Regions from separate parts of the Homo sapiens genome. Here region 1 is linked to region 2. The links are contacts of gene promoters, found by promoter capture Hi-C in human tissues and cell types (Jung and others, 2019). All regions are on one chromosome and are shown on one strand. The core of a region is centred on a gene start or on the middle of the fragment in contact, and the rest is flanking DNA. Distances in the headings are between cores, read along the strand shown. Region 1 overlaps LOC124901603 (a long non-coding RNA gene). Region 2 holds the start of NPVF (neuropeptide VF precursor).

What was found. The method cuts DNA at HindIII sites, captures the fragments that hold promoters and counts their contacts. A contact is called where the count stands out against the background at its distance.
Region 1: a contact is called between a fragment that was not itself captured here and the fragment with the promoter of NPVF in region 2, in 2 of the 25 tissues and cell types used here (hippocampus and mesenchymal stem cells).

Annotation. Positions count from the first base shown.
Region 1 is chr7:25,188,608-25,196,325 of GRCh38, reverse strand. The region is part of intron 1 of LOC124901603 (a long non-coding RNA gene); the gene reads right to left. LOC105375191 (a long non-coding RNA gene) reads right to left here. Exons shown (of 3, transcript XR_927102.3): 2 at 7,603-7,662; 3 at 2,347-2,564. Among named protein-coding and RNA genes, the nearest start is that of SPMIP4, 12 kb to the right of the region's middle. RefSeq lists an enhancer at 7,491-7,718. The HindIII fragment of the contact is 3,464 bases long and covers 3,900-7,363 here.
Region 2 is chr7:25,223,466-25,231,272 of GRCh38, reverse strand. NPVF (neuropeptide VF precursor) reads left to right here and starts at 2,787. Exons shown (of 3, transcript NM_022150.3): 1 at 2,787-2,971; 2 at 4,247-4,647; 3 at 6,100-6,703. The coding sequence starts at 2,834. The coding sequence ends at 6,151. The HindIII fragment of the contact is 3,738 bases long and covers 1-3,293 here.

The sequences.
Region 1 (7,718 bases), core at 4,382-6,881, 38 kb after region 2:
TGTCCTTAACTGCCAAGCCACCTTTTGTGTTTCTTTCCTCTTTCTTTAATTCTTACAGGGTTGAGTCTACTGATAGTCCTGTCAAATGCATACTTCATCTCTGCTACCATCACTTTTTTTTCTTCTGGCATTCCCATTAGACTCTTCCTTACAGCTTCCATCTCTCTGTTGACATTCCCCATCTAGTCATGCATGTGGTCCACCTGAGTCTGTTTCTGTTGATTGATTTTTCCCCTGACAGTGGGTTGTTTTCAGTTGCTCTTGTGTGTCCTGTGATCTTTGATTGAATGTTTGACATGTGTAAGACAGTAGAGACTGAAGCAAGAAGTATTTATGCCCGGAAATGGGCATGCCTTTCCTTCTACTACCTGCTGGTATGAGGGGTTGAGTTGATCTAGTGATGAGTTCAACTGGGTCTGGGTTTTGCTGTTGCCATTTTAGTTCAATGCACCACTGGCTTCAAATCCCCCTAGTGCTACTGCGTCCCTGGGTAAGGGCTGGGCTCACAATATTCATGCTCCACCCTCAGATTTACACCTTCCCCGTGTGCCCATCCACATTTTTTGGCTGTCCCTTGCTGTAGACTGCTATTACTTGTTACTTGGTGCTTGTTGACCTGGTGTGGGGTCAGGGCCACTGTCTGTCGTTTTGTTCCAGACTCAGTGTGAGGCAGGCCCAGTGTTCCAGGGCCCAGAGAATGAGGCTTTTTTATCCATCCTTTCTTCCCCAGGACAAGGGGCACTCTAATGGACTGGGACAATTTCCTGCCTGCAATTGCCATGAGCATTTTTCTTTTCCTTCCCAATATGAACTCCAAATATCTGAGACAGGTCTCAGTTAATTTAGAAAGTTTATTTTGCCAAGGTTGCAGACAAGCACCCATGACACAGCCTCAGGAGGTTCTGATGACAGGTGCCCAAGGTGGTAGGGACACCCCTTGGTTTTACACATTTTAGGGAGACTTGAGACATCAGTCAATATGTGTAAGAGGTACATTGGTTCAGTCTGGAAAGGTGGGTCAATTCAAGGTGAAGATGGGACAACTCGAAGCAGGGAGGGGCCTTCCAGGTCATAGGTATATAAGAGACAAATGGTTGCATTCTTTTGAGTTTATGGTTAGCCTCTCCAAAGAAGGCAATCAGATATGCATTCATGTCAGTGAGCAGAGGGGTGACTTTGAACAGAATGGGAGGCAGGTTTGCCCTAAGCAGTTCCCAGCTTGACTTTTCCTTTTAGCTTAGTGATTCTGGGGCACCAAGATTTATTTTCCTTTCACACCACCAACCTCAGTGGGATTTTCCTGCAGCCTGAGGTCAGCAGGGTTTTCTGCCCTTTCCCCAAAAGGTATGGCTTTTGTTTGTTCCGGAAGAAGAGTCTGGAAGAGCTTTGTGCATTTCCTGCAGTGGCAGCTGCTCCCCTGCCCCAAGCTGGCACTGTTGTGGGAGGCTCTATCTGGTCTCCCACTCTGTGCCCAATACATTCATGTGTGAGTGGGGCTCAGTGGCCTTCTATAGAGAAGCACCTGCAAGAGAGTGTGAACTCTGCTTGTCCAAAGATCCCAGGAGGTCCACACTTTCATGCTGACTCAAACACAGCCTTCAGTGATTCTTTAAAGGCATCGACTGAGCCAGTCTTCCCCACCTGTGTGGCAGGGCTGTCTCCTTCTCACGCTTGGCCACAGACAGCCATGTTCACACCTCCTCTTCTCAGAGGCTCCTGCCTTCCTTCAACCTCAGGCTGAATGTTTGCCCTGTGACTTCAGCTTCTGATGGGTTCAGGGAAAGGTATGATCTTGTAGATTATCTGTTGTTTTACTGTTACCAGAGGAGTGAGACCCATTCTGATTTTCTACTTCCTAGTCGGCAACTGGAAGCCAGAGCAATGTTTGCAAACATCAGTCAGATCACCTCCTCATTGCTGAAAACCATGCTGAACACAGTCAGAATGAAATCTCCATTTGGTGCGGGGGGCTTTCAAGCTCCACACGGCCTGGCCCTGGTGTCCTCTCAACCTCAGCCCTCCTGACTCTCCAGGACCCACTGTCCCAGGCCATATGAAGCTCATTCTCAGAGAAGTCCTCCACTTCTCATTCCTGCCCTGAGGGCTTTGCCTGGCTTTTCCCTCTGCCAGGAATGCTATTTCCTCCATTCTCACTCAGGTCAGAGGGAATGTTCCTTATCCTGCAATCCTCAGTTCAAAGTTTACCCTCTCTGAGAGCCCTCCCCTCTTTCCAAGGTTTCCCCCTCCCAGATCCCATAAAAGTTCAAACATCTTACCATATTACATATGATTTTGGAAGCTTCTCAAAATTTATTTTTGGAATAAAGGAGATGGATGAAGATGAGATTTCTCCCAGCCATATTTATTTGGTCCTCAATATTTTGCTCAAATTACCCAGGTTGGTAGTTCTCAACCTTAGCTGAGACAACGGCATCCACCTGCCAAGGGTGAAGGCCCACGATAGGCTGTTCTGGGCACCTGGAGGCAGAAGGGGTCAGGGACCAGACGTCTTTATAGGTTCAGCCTCCTGGGATCATTCAGGGACCACAAAGATATCCAGTTTTCTGTAGGAAGCAAGACATCTGGTGACTGCTCTATTCTACTTCAATCCTCACTCACTCTCACCAGTGAAGCTGCCTTAGGAACAACACCAGCCAAGCAAAGAGGGTGTTTGGTTTGGGGAAAAAATGATCTATTGACTCCAAAGCAGCCTCTGTGCTAGTGGAGACCCCATCTCAAGAGGAGGGATGGCAGACTCCACAATTCCCAGCTGTCAATACAGGAGGGGGCTTCGTTTTCCTGGGTCACTGAAAAAGAACAAGAGAACTCTGGGGCCTTGGTCCTGGAGAAGACCCAGGGGGACCATCCCTCCCAGAAACACTCTGGAAAAAGGTTGTGGAGTTGTTTTTATCTGTAAATGTCCATATCTGATAGTTCAGGATTTCTTGCTTTTTAGGGTTTCACTAAAGTTTTAGGTTACTAAGAATAAAAATTCCAGTTAACACATACTTCTGTATACAAAATATGCTAGAAAGGGTTATGTTATTAGTGAAAAAAAGAATAATTTTGTCTAATTCAGAAGTTATCTGAAAGTTAGCTTAAATTACAGATTTGAAAAGGTTATTTATGAAACAATGTAGTAAGGAATAATTAAGTAGGGGAGAAAGATGAAAAAAATTTAAATAATAAAATATTCTTTAAAACCTGATAGAGAAATGGAGACATTTGGCTAATTAACATTTTCATTGTTAAAGCCAAGTCTTGATTAAAGTAAAATAAGAAGTATTGTAAAGAAATGAATCAGCAGTTTGGCAATTCTTTTTTAAATATAGTTAAGTATGAAGCTGGGTTTAGTGTGGAGCCAAATTTCACATACATGCTTGCATTGCTTCACTCTGTTTACTGTTTTGCTTGGATAGTGCTAGAGTACTTACTGGTCATGTGCCTAAAGTGAATTTCTTAATTGCACAGAATTTATAATAATATTGATGAACTTAAGGATATTAAATTGTGTATCAGGAATAAAATATGTAATATGTGGGTTTTGGGGATCAGTAACACTGTAGCCTCCAAGGTATATTGAGTAGGAAAATTTAGGGTTGGTCTCCTGTTTTTTGTTTCTGCTTCTAGTTTTCATTCATTTGCTGTTTATTCTCCTCTAGCTTTGTGTGTATGTATATGTGTATGCATATATATAAAACCATGATTTTTTTTTTTTAGTTCCTAGTGGAAGGCTTTTACTTGGTTCTGTGAATACTTATTTTGTTTCCTATGCATTTCTAGCAAATCATTATTTGTTCCATTTATCTGGAATTTCTACACTGCCTTTGTTGGGCCACAGGAGTTAATGGAGCACACCAGCTTTCTATCCAAAACTAGTTTTTTGGATTCTAGGCTCCCTGATACTTTAAGTGTGTTGAGTATACTCTAATAAATAGAATTTGAGTCACATTTCTCTCTCTCTCTGCCTAATTTCTCCAAAATTTGTAAACTATTTGTGAATATTCCTAATTCATGGCAATGTGTTTGTTTGCATACAGTCAAGCGGGGTCAACTAGGGCCGGTCAGGGAGAGAGAACCCAGAAACGTGGCAAGCTGGCAAAAGGGTAAGAATTTCTTACCAGCCAGTCACTGGCCTCTTTCTCTCTGTACAAACTGGTTAAATAAATAGTAAAAGTCACTGTTTATCTCCTCTGTAAAGTTTTAATTGATACAAAAGAGCTTTAATTAATTGGTTTAATAATAATAAGAGCTTAAATCAAATATTTTGTCAAAAAAGTGAAAAATGTAATGCCTTTTATTTAGTTCATGTGACTTGTGTAATCTTTGGGAAATAAAGACAGTCTTAAAGATTATTGGTAAAATACAAATGTCTTCAAAATGTAAACATGTGGCCTAAGTTATGCTCAAATTTCAGGTTTGCTAAATGCTTTAAGGTCATAAACTGCTCCTTTAGCTTTTGAAAGTTGTTTAACTTGTCTGCTTTCCACCAGGTAAGGCCTGAGGACATGTGGAGGTGGCCGCACCCCTGGCTAATGCTGGAAATAGTCAAACCTTATCAGAACATAACTTACCAGGTTTTACATTAAAATTAAAATTGCTGAGAGTCACCATTATAACATGTAATTAAGACTACTAGAAACAGTTTTACATGCAAGGTGTGTAAGAACAGAAGAATTTTTTTTTGTAAAAGATTATAAAAGGTTTTCGCTTCTTTAAAATTTCTGAGTTATCATTTTGGCAAAATAAATAGTTTATGGTAATCTGGAATTCCAAAATCAAACTTCAGTTTTAAAATTTTCTTTCCTGATGCCTAGCTTTTTGAATTGATCAGAGGGCCCTTGAAAACATCTGGAAAAGAAGTAAACGAGATTATTTGACATGTTTAGGTATATGGGATTGCCAAAATGATGTTCAATCTTCTTTAGGTTATGTTTTTGTAAATAATACTAATATATATTCCAAAATTGTATGGGATTTCTAAAATTCTAATGTGTAAGTATATGCTATCAATTATAATTATGGTTATTATGTTAAGTTACTGTAAACCACAGAAATAACCAAATTTCCTTGTATAAAGCTACTAACCCAAGTAGAACAAAAAAAAATTAAATGCCAAGAAAAGTCAGATTCTCATGTTAAACCAGCTGATACTGAAATTGTTTAGATATACAATTTGAATAAACTTCACAGTCTAAGTCAAATTACCTTTGATAACTCATCAGTTGTCAGTGCTATGCACCTAATTTAGAAAAACTACTGGTATTCGAGAGGATATACATCTAATGTTAATAAGCATGGACTCATGGAGAACCAGGATGACCACCTTGTCCTTCTTGAGTCCTTAAAGTTTTTATTATTAAAAGTTCTGCATTCCATGACTCATCATGGAAAAGATAAAATAATCCAAAGTGAATACATTCATGTAGTAACTTACAAATTACTAAAATAGTTTATAACCAATGTTTGGCTCTATATTCATGGGAAAACAATTAAAGCTTCAGGTACATTTGGTCACCTGGTGGGCCATTTGAACATTTCGTAAAGGGATTTCACGCAACTGTTATTTTCAGTGCATGTTTTCTGATTGTATAAAAGCTTTCCTGGCCAGGCACGGTGGCTCATGCCTGTAATCCCAGCACTTTGGGAGGCTGAGGCAGGTGGATCGCCTGAGGTCAGGAGTTCGAGACCAGCCTGGCCAAAATGGCGAAATACTGCCTCTACTAAAAATACAAAAAGTTAGCCAGCCATAGTGGCGGGTGCCTGTAATCCCAGCTACTCAGAAGGATGAGGCAGGAGAATCACTTGAACCTAGGAGGCAGAGGTTGCAGTGAGCCGAGATCGTACCATTGCACTCCAGCCTGGGTGACACAGCAAGACTCTGTTTCCAAAAAAAGAAAAAAAAAGCTTTCCCATGCCAGAGGGCTGATGTTATCACAGCAGATTATTATGCTACAGTGTAGTTTCACCAGGTAAAGAAAACTTTTTATGGTTTGGATCTTCTGAGAACGTCAAAGAAAAACTGTCCTTGCCATCCACACTATTACAAAATTTCAGGACCTTGAACTTTGGGTTCATAATCTCACAACTGAGAAAGGTCCCTCATCACTCTTGGAACTCTACACCCATTGAAATCCTTAAGGTAAAACTAGCCAGGAAAGTTTCTCCCCAGAAGAAGATGGCATCTTGATGTGAACAGCTTTTTCCATGTTCACAGATTAAGACTTCTATTATCATGAAACTCTAATCTTTGAATATTTTTTCCTGCTTATGCTTCTATAAACAATAGAAGTGGTTAGGGGGTCAGTCTGTTATGTGCACTTGTGGGGTATACTTTTATTTGTGAAGAAGTTTACAGCCAGCCTTATACATGGATAAACTTATACTTTGATAGATAAAAGATGAAGACCCAATGTAGGTACAAAACTTTAATGGTACATACATTGCCTCGTAATCAGTTATGAACAAAACATTGGTTCATTCCTTTTAACCCACATCATGGGTTAAAAAGTACACTGCCAGGAGGTCTTCACTCTTCTAGAAGGGCATCATTTGTCAGGCCCTTTTTCCATGGTTTAAAGTAAAAAAAGCAATGATTAGAAATGTATCCCTCGTGATAGACTCTGTAGCAAATTATAAAGGTAAGGACACAGAAACTTTAAATTCTCTTGTGTAAGTTATGATAGAATTGGCAGAACAAGAAGTATCTGTGCCACTGCTGGCACTTGTGGCCTATGGAAAAATACATCAGGTGAAAATTATAGAAATTCAGTGGTAGGGGATTAACAAAGAGACTACTTGTTAAGTGAGTAGACTCTTTATCTAGCTCATTCTTTGCTCTATTTGATTTTAGGATGTTTGACTTATGGGGACCTTGGGTAAGGAGCAAACTGCAAACTCTTTGTTTTATCCTCCCAATAGTCATAAGAATAGTCTCCCTTGTGCACTGTATTGTCTCGAAGGTTTTAAATGCTTGCATGCAGCCGTCTCTAGAACATCACATGGTCTCCCTTCAACCAGAATGACAAGAGCTGAAAGAAATATGCAACCTTGAGGACACCGCAACCTATCAATGACGTGCTGAGACCAGAAACCCAAAATGATGGTAACTGAGAGTAGCGCGAAGGCCCTAAGTTTTGGTCACACTCTTACCTAAGTGAGAACCTGACCAAAAAGGGGGAATATTTTTAAACAAAATTCTGGGAGGCCATTGTTTTGTTCCTCCCACCCAGAGCACAACCGTCACCTGATCCATCTTCAGCACAGTTCCTGAAGCCTCCCGATCCATGTGGTCTATCCTGACCCCACAGGTGGGGCCTAGTGCATGAGCTTAGTCCAAAACAAGGCAAGAAGAATGGACACTGAGCTTTCCAGATGGAACCTCCCTTCTCCCAGCACCCAGGAGTTGAGATGGGCTCCTCCAACAGGAGGGAGCATCTGTGGCGCCGCATGGAGCAGCCTCTCCTAGCAGAGCCGCAGACAGCCAGGCAGGAAGCTGGTCAGTGGCAGGAGCTCTGCTGGGCGCCCTGCAGGGCAGACAGGAGCCCACCCTTGGCTCTCCGCCACAGGCCCCTGACACCTGCACCGCTGAGCACCACTTACTTGTTGTTATTGAGACTGTCCATGGGCTGCTGGGACTGTCCATTCATCCCGCTCTCTTTGCTATAACAAACAACAGCAGAATTCAGCATCATTTAAAATCATCAGACACAGAGACA
Region 2 (7,807 bases), core at 1,538-4,037:
TCCAATATGATCTAAATTCCAACCAGCTTGTTCTTTCCTTGGATATTGTCTCTCAACTGTAGTGTATTCTTCACCCCTTTATAGTTAATTTCCTGTTATAATTAATAATTATTTGTATTAATCACTTCCTGTTCAAGTTACTGTGTGTTTTCTGTCTCCTGATTGGACCCTGACAGATGCAGTACTATTCATCGAAATGAGAAACATAGGAGGAAAAATAGGTATGGAAAAGATAAATTCCATTTCAGACATACTGAACTTGAAATGTTTGTGGGATGTCCAAACAGCACTGTCTGGTAGGAAGCTGAGTGGGAGGTTCAAAAGCTCAGGAGAAGTGACCAGCCTGAAGAGATAGGCTTAGAATTGAGTAGTCCTAGAGCCACTAAAATCTTAGCAAATGAAGCATGTATTTAAATGCCACAAGTCCGAGAGAGAGATTTTTTTAAATTTTTCATATCCTCATATGTCTCACCAAGAGACCCTAAACCAATTAATCTGTATGTGTGTATGCAGTAGCACATTTCAACAAAAGATTTATGGTGATTTCATACTTTGTATGTTCTATATCTGTTAACACTTTCAAAGTTAAATGAAGATATAATTGAAAAGAGCCAAGACCCGTTTTTTTTTTGTTGTTGTTTGTTTGTTGGTTGGTTGTTTTTATTGAGACAGAGTCTCGCTCTGTCATCCAGGCTGGAGTGCAATGGTGTGATCTCAGCTCACGGCAACCTCCACCTCCTGGATTCAAGCGATTCTCCTGCCTCAGCCTCCTGAGTAGCTGGGATTACAGGCATGTGCCACCATTCCTGGCTAATTTTTGTATTTTTAGTAGAGATGGAGTTTCAGCATGTTGGCCAGGCTGGTCTTGAACTCCTGACCTCAGGTGATCTGCCAGCCTCAGCCTCCCAAAGTGCTGGGATTACAGACATGAGCCACGTGCCTGGCCCAAGCCCCATATTAATAAGATAATTCTAATTACCTTCCAAACGTGGAGTCCTAACCTGGTGGAGGCAGGGAGCAATTAAGTCATATGTGTATGCTGATTGTCATCAGGAAAATTCTAATGGATCTGCCAACACCCATTAGTAGCAGCACTGAAAACTGGTGAGCTGCTTAATTTGCATTTTATCTGAAAATGACAACTAGATAAAAATACATTTTGAAAAAGACTCAGGCTGATGCCTTCTGCTTTTTCTGGGGTGTGAATTCAGTCAACAAAACTTGCCCCTTGATTCATTCATTTCTCAAAAGTTTGGATCTACTGACTACACACACATACATACACACACACACACACACACACACACACACACACACAAAGAAATTCCATCAGCAGTTTGCAAAAGAACAATTTGGAAGAGAAATGTATTAAATCCTCAGGGAAATTAAACCCAAATAATCCAATAATGGCATTACAAAATTAACGATAGACTATGAATTGAATTAATTGCCTCCTACTGTGGGGTTCTTGGCTACTACAAACCAAAACAAATGAAGCCAATGATGTCAAATGCCTTAAGAGAGACCATAGGCAAGTTTGTATCACAAGAGTTCACCCACTGTGGTTTTTCAACTTTCTGGCTTGTTCTGGAGATCAATATGAAGAAAGATCTTCACTTCTGCCATCTCACGTCTCAAATTACATACGGTAGGTTGGTGAGAGAGGTGAGAGGTGGCACAGTTCTAGACACAACAGAGCAATTTTACAACTCTTTGTGAATTACCTCTAACTGTCTGTGTCTAGAAGTAGCTGGACTGTAGGAAATCCATGCAAGTCTTTTTCTCCTGAAAGGGCTGAAGGGACTGGTGGGAACAAGTAAAGGTGTCTCTAGAACCCAGGCAGTCTAGTGATAAGGCAGATATTTAAGAACAGTCAGCTGCTCCAAAAGAGATTCGCTTTGGCATTTCAGTAAATGCGCATTTATTTCTGTAAATTCTCTTTTAATGTCATGATGACAGCACACCTTTGGCAATACGCGATTACCTAAATAATATGCGTCCTGGGACCAATAGAGTTAGCATGTGTATGACTTACCAAGCCCCTGCTAGTCTCCCTAAGGACTTTGAGAGGGAAGGTAGGATGCAGCATCTTGATAGAAAGTTTTGGTGATTGACACAGCTTTACCAAATAAGACCCATAGAGCAAATACAGAGGGCCTGACTGCCTCCAGCTTCTCCTGAGACGCCAGTTTGTCAAAATGCCTATCAAGTATTTGCTCATATACACATCCTTCATGTTACGGCTAACATTGACCCCTGAAGCTTTTTAATAACCAAACAGCATTTTACAAAAAAACTAATTCATGGCATTTTGTTGGGATATTATAATTTTTTTCACATTCTTAATTTTGCTTGACATTTTGAAAATACTACGCCTAACTCTTTTGTGCAGATTAAAAAAAAAAAAACATAGCTAGCATGGATTGAATACTTCCTTTTCCTTCCCTCAAGAATTGACACAAACACCAAAAACAAAATACTTTTTGTTTAAGCTTAGAGAAATGAAGCATTCTGTCTGTTTGGAATCTTAATTACTATCCCCCCAAACTTACCTAATTAGAAGCTCTTTTATAATGAGGAAAATTATTTTCAAAGTTAATGAATTTGCAAGCACAAACATTGCTGTCTTCCCAGAATGAATTATTCACATTCCTTACATGCATATTTTAGTTGTACACTCTAATTAATATTAGTACTTAAAATGTGTGAGATTGATTTCACTGTTTAAAAAAAACTTTCCTTTGTTTTTAGACGATATAAAAACACCACAATTTTTTTCTCCTCTCATAAACATTGGGCTGCACATAGAGACTTAATTTTAGATTTAGACAAAATGGAAATTATTTCATCAAAACTATTCATTTTATTGACTTTAGCCACTTCAAGCTTGTTAACATCAAACATTTTTTGTGCAGATGAATTAGTGATGTCCAATCTTCACAGCAAAGAAAATTATGACAAATATTCTGAGGTAAGTTTTTTAAATCTCTCTAATGTGAGTAGCATTAATTACATAATATTAATCCTAAGTCTAATGATTTTGTAAAGACTAAGAAGTAAGTTGGTGTGTACTCTGTTTTTTTGTGAAATTTCAGCCTTCCTCTGACAATGTATAAATGTCACTTGTTTATTTAGCACGACAGCAATCAGGCTGGCCTCTGTCATGACAATTGTACTGGTGAGTATGGTACTTAGCAAGCATACAGCGCATTAATAATTTTCAATCAACTCACAAGTGCATATTTGTAATAAATGGTTGGCAGAAATAAGATTTGGGTACATTTCAGCTGGACATTCAAATTGTTTTAAACTACAAACAAACAAACAAAAAACACATTTCTTTTGGGCTTAGCAATTACAAACTGGCCAATGTGTACTAAATCTATATCTTAGTAAAGTGTTTACCTGTAGATGGTAAAATTGCAAATTGTTTTTATTTTCTTTTATGTGTTTTCCAAATCTGATGAAATTAGCGTGTATACTCATTTTACTCAAGGGATAATCAGAAAACAATCATTTAAAAATTTCCATATGGACAAGCTCCTATGGTAAAGACTAAATCTAATTAAATATTCTCTGTATTTGAGATGGTTCCTACAAAGTTGGCATACTTGTGATGCAGTAACCCATAAACCAATGAGTTCTTTGCTAAAAATGTATTTTATATTCTAATAAAAATGCAATTGGTTTCTTGAGAAAGCTTTAGAGTGGTACCCTGAGTAAGATAGAATAAAAAAGAAATCCACTGGGCCTTCTACAACTATACCCCAAAACCTGGCCAGCATCTCTGTTTTGATGTACCGTGTTTCCATGTGCCACTTTGGCCTTTAAAGAGAAACATGAAAAATGAGTGGGAGGTTTCTCTAAAATCAAATTATAAAAATATATAAAATATTCCATAAGCAACATGAATCAAAAAAACCAAAAGAGAATAACTGCAGTAAAATAAACTTTTGCCACATTTCAGTACTTCATTATGTTCCTGCTGCTTGAACTCATTGCTGTATTCACTATATATATTTTATAAATATTTTATGGTTGTCTTACAATAGTCTAGGGACAGAGAAACTATATTGCTTTAAAAAGCTTAATACAAATCATTTAAAAATTCTGCACATATGAACACAAACTTTGTTTATAGCTTTAACAATTCTGCAGATTAAAGTCTAGATTTAAGTTAATTGGGGGTTTAAATCTGTTGCTTATAACAACAGTATGTTATTGTAATGGTCATTTCTAATTATAGCCTAGAGGATACCCAAAAGGGGAAAGAAGCCTCAATTTTGAGGAATTAAAAGATTGGGGACCAAAAAATGTTATTAAGATGAGTACACCTGCAGTCAATAAAATGCCACACTCCTTCGCCAACTTGCCATTGAGATTTGGGAGGAACGTTCAAGAAGAAAGAAGTGCTGGAGCAACAGCCAACCTGCCTCTGAGATCTGGAAGAAATATGGAGGTGAGCCTCGTGAGACGTGTTCCTAACCTGCCCCAAAGGTTTGGGAGAACAACAACAGCCAAAAGTGTCTGCAGGATGCTGAGTGATTTGTGTCAAGGATCCATGCATTCACCATGTGCCAATGACTTATTTTACTCCATGACCTGCCAGCACCAAGAAATCCAGAATCCCGATCAAAAACAGTCAAGGTAAATACCTGGAAACCAGTCAAAGTGCATGGGCAGTTATATAGAGGTGGTCTAGAAACTTTAAAAATGACTACATCTTTTCAACATAAGTTTCTAAGACAGTAAGTTTCCTAGCAGGAGAGAGAGGCAAAGACACAAGGAACTAAATACCTGTAAATTGGGAACTATAGAAGGCCAGGTATAATAAGCATGGCTCAAGGTATAAAATCATAGGATGGCTTCCCCTAAGCCACATATAAGCATCAATCTCCTTATCCTATAGCTGCTCACTAAGTCCATGCAATGACAGTATATTGTCTAAACGCTGGACCTCTCCCACATAAAAAGTCTCATGGGAGAGAGTTGTTCAGGTGCAAAGGACCCCATCTCAATAATCTAGGTCTCAAATGCAGCAGGTTTTCTTTCCTAACTTTTAATCAAAGTGTTTTCTTTTATCTGGATCTCATCTTATAAACTCTGTTATAATCATTATTTATATTAAGAAATATGTATTATCTCCTATGTACACATCAGAATGTAAGATTTAAAAATTAATAACCTACCTACCTGTTCTTTTATAGTAGAGAGCGTATGCTTAAAAAAAATTTTTTTTATATGAAGTAGAACATGATGCTTTAGTTAAGACCTGAAGAAAGTACAGTGGCAGATTGTGTCACCTTATCTGAGAGACCTTCTCAGGACACTCCAGGTTTGTTCTTTTCCATGGTACTTATCCCATCTGACATATATTTAGGGTTCATTGCCTTTATTAGAATTTCAGTCCTACAAATCCCATAATTTTTGTCCACTGCCATATGCCCAGAGCCTAAGAACTGTGTCTACCACATAGTAAGCCCTCAATATCTGACGGGATGAATGAAATAAGAGAGGCACTAATAAGGTCCTGCAGAGGGTCAGAAAAAAAGAGAGTGTTTCTGTATGTGGAAACCTGCCTTTCAAAAGCAGCTTTCTCTTGAACATTCGGAGACTGGTGAGAAGAGGGAGGTCATTTTTAGGCACTAAAGCAAGGTGAGCCAAGAACAGCCGAGGCGCCCTTTGGCAAGAGCAAAAAGGATGTGAAGAAGAGAGGAAAGAAGTCTAGACCGTTAGAGTAAGAGCAGAGAGCGCAGATATTGAGGACCCGGACAAGGACTTGGGGCGTCATTCATCAGGAGAGGGAGAACCACTGACATTTCTGCTGAGGTTGTGGGATGTTATACAGAGGCAGAATTGACAGCTAATCAGATGTTGGGAGTGGGGCGGTGTGGAGGGAGAGAGATGAATCAATGATAAGTGTTTGGGACTGAGTGCCCATCACAGATTCAGCATCCCCCCAATATCTCACTCATTTCAAGTGCAACACAATTCAACTCAAGTATAATTAGGCAGTTAGGACTATGGCTTGTATTTGTATACACACTTGCATGCTGTTGTTCTGATGGGTGACAACATTTTATACTGCTTACATTTTAGGAGACTGCTATTCAAGAAAATAGATGATGCAGAATTGAAACAAGAAAAATAAGAAACCTGGAGCCTGTCCCTAAAGCTGTGGCCTGTAATCTACAAATGGCTCTATAGCGAAGACCACACGGAAGAGTAGCTACATACACTTCATCAGCTATGGATCATCAACGGCAATTTTTCCTTGTCAGTACAGCTATAATAGTATCTTGAAAGTTGTAAAAAAATTAAAGCATATTTGTTACGTAAAGTTAAAATGATTTTTGTCTGAATAAAAAAAAAGCATTGCAAATGCTTTAGAAATCTCTGATAATGGAGAGAGAGACAGAGGACCCTCCTCACTACCCTATATAAAAATCATTGGCACAGTTACACTTAATAAAAAAAATTAAACAGAAGAGCACCCTGAAAAACATTATGATGGAAATTAAATAGTATGCCAGAATAACATGGTTGACAAATAAGTGAACAAGGATTAAAAATCACTTACAAACGTGTTTCTGTACACCCTTTCTATCGTGTCAAATGTTAATGAATCTGTGATCAATTGAAATGTAAATGTCTGTGTAAAACTACAAAATAAAAACTCTTAGACTTTAGGGAGAAAAGAAAAAGGCAACTATGAGTTACCTCTTTTAGTGTCTCCTCTATCTACATCCAGAAATTTGCCTCTAGTGAGTTTCTTTCCTCCTCATTTAACATTTCAAGTTTTTGATTTGCAAAAAGATCTGGCTATTCCTCAACTAAGAATTTATAAATTCAGTACACCACAACACAATGCAGTGACTTTCCTTTAACCCTAAGGATATGAAGTCCTTCATCAGATATAGCTAGTTTATTGAACAGTCTCAACCCCACTGGGTGCACACAGGAAATGGTTTTATTTTTCTCCCAGTGTGCCCCGCGCTGGGCTGTGGTGAATCTCCCGCCCCTGCTGATTAAAGGTCCCTTAATGCTACCCTGGACATACTGCATAACTCCCTCGGTCACTTCCTGGTATTAAAAAACTTCGTCAAGTCCAGTTGAAGACTCCAACCTCATATCCAAAAATAAAGTGTCCCCACCCACCTCCATGGCTGGCTGGGCTGGTGGAAGGGCCTAAAGTGGGAAAGGGGCAGGTCTGCTCTTTCTGTCTTCCTCCCCTTTCTCACCTCAGAGGTAGGGTGCTGGGAGGGAACATGGTAGGCTCTGAAAAACAATCTCCCCTCCTATCTTCTCCAGGGCAAGGGAGGAATTGGGATGGTGGGGGTGGTCAAGAGAAGCGGTCTCCTCCTCTCTATATAAAGTTGCTGCTTCTACAGGAGCGTTCTTCGGGAAGACTCGCAGGGGCCTTCACACAGGTCACCTACCTGGGGGCTCTGGATGCTACTTGATCTCTTCCAACTACCCCCGTCTCATCTGTTCTCCCCATAGTTTTTATTGCCAGACAGAAAGGCTCAAGCCAGCTACCCTCCCAGCGACCGCTTGGAGCATAGAAAATGCAGACATCCCCCCAGCCAGACCAAGGGCGGACTGCAGGCTGCCCCTCCACTGCCCGCCGTCGTCTCCACCCCTCTGCCCCTGTTTGGGAGGGGGCAGGCAGGTCATAAGTCTACTGCCTAAGCAAGCAGCCAGTCAAAAGTAGCATGCAGGGCGCCTGTCAAAACCCCATACTCTAGAAGTGGTTTTCTAGGAATGCCTCTTACTTGGCTTCCTGGGGGAGCAGCAGCTGCAGCAG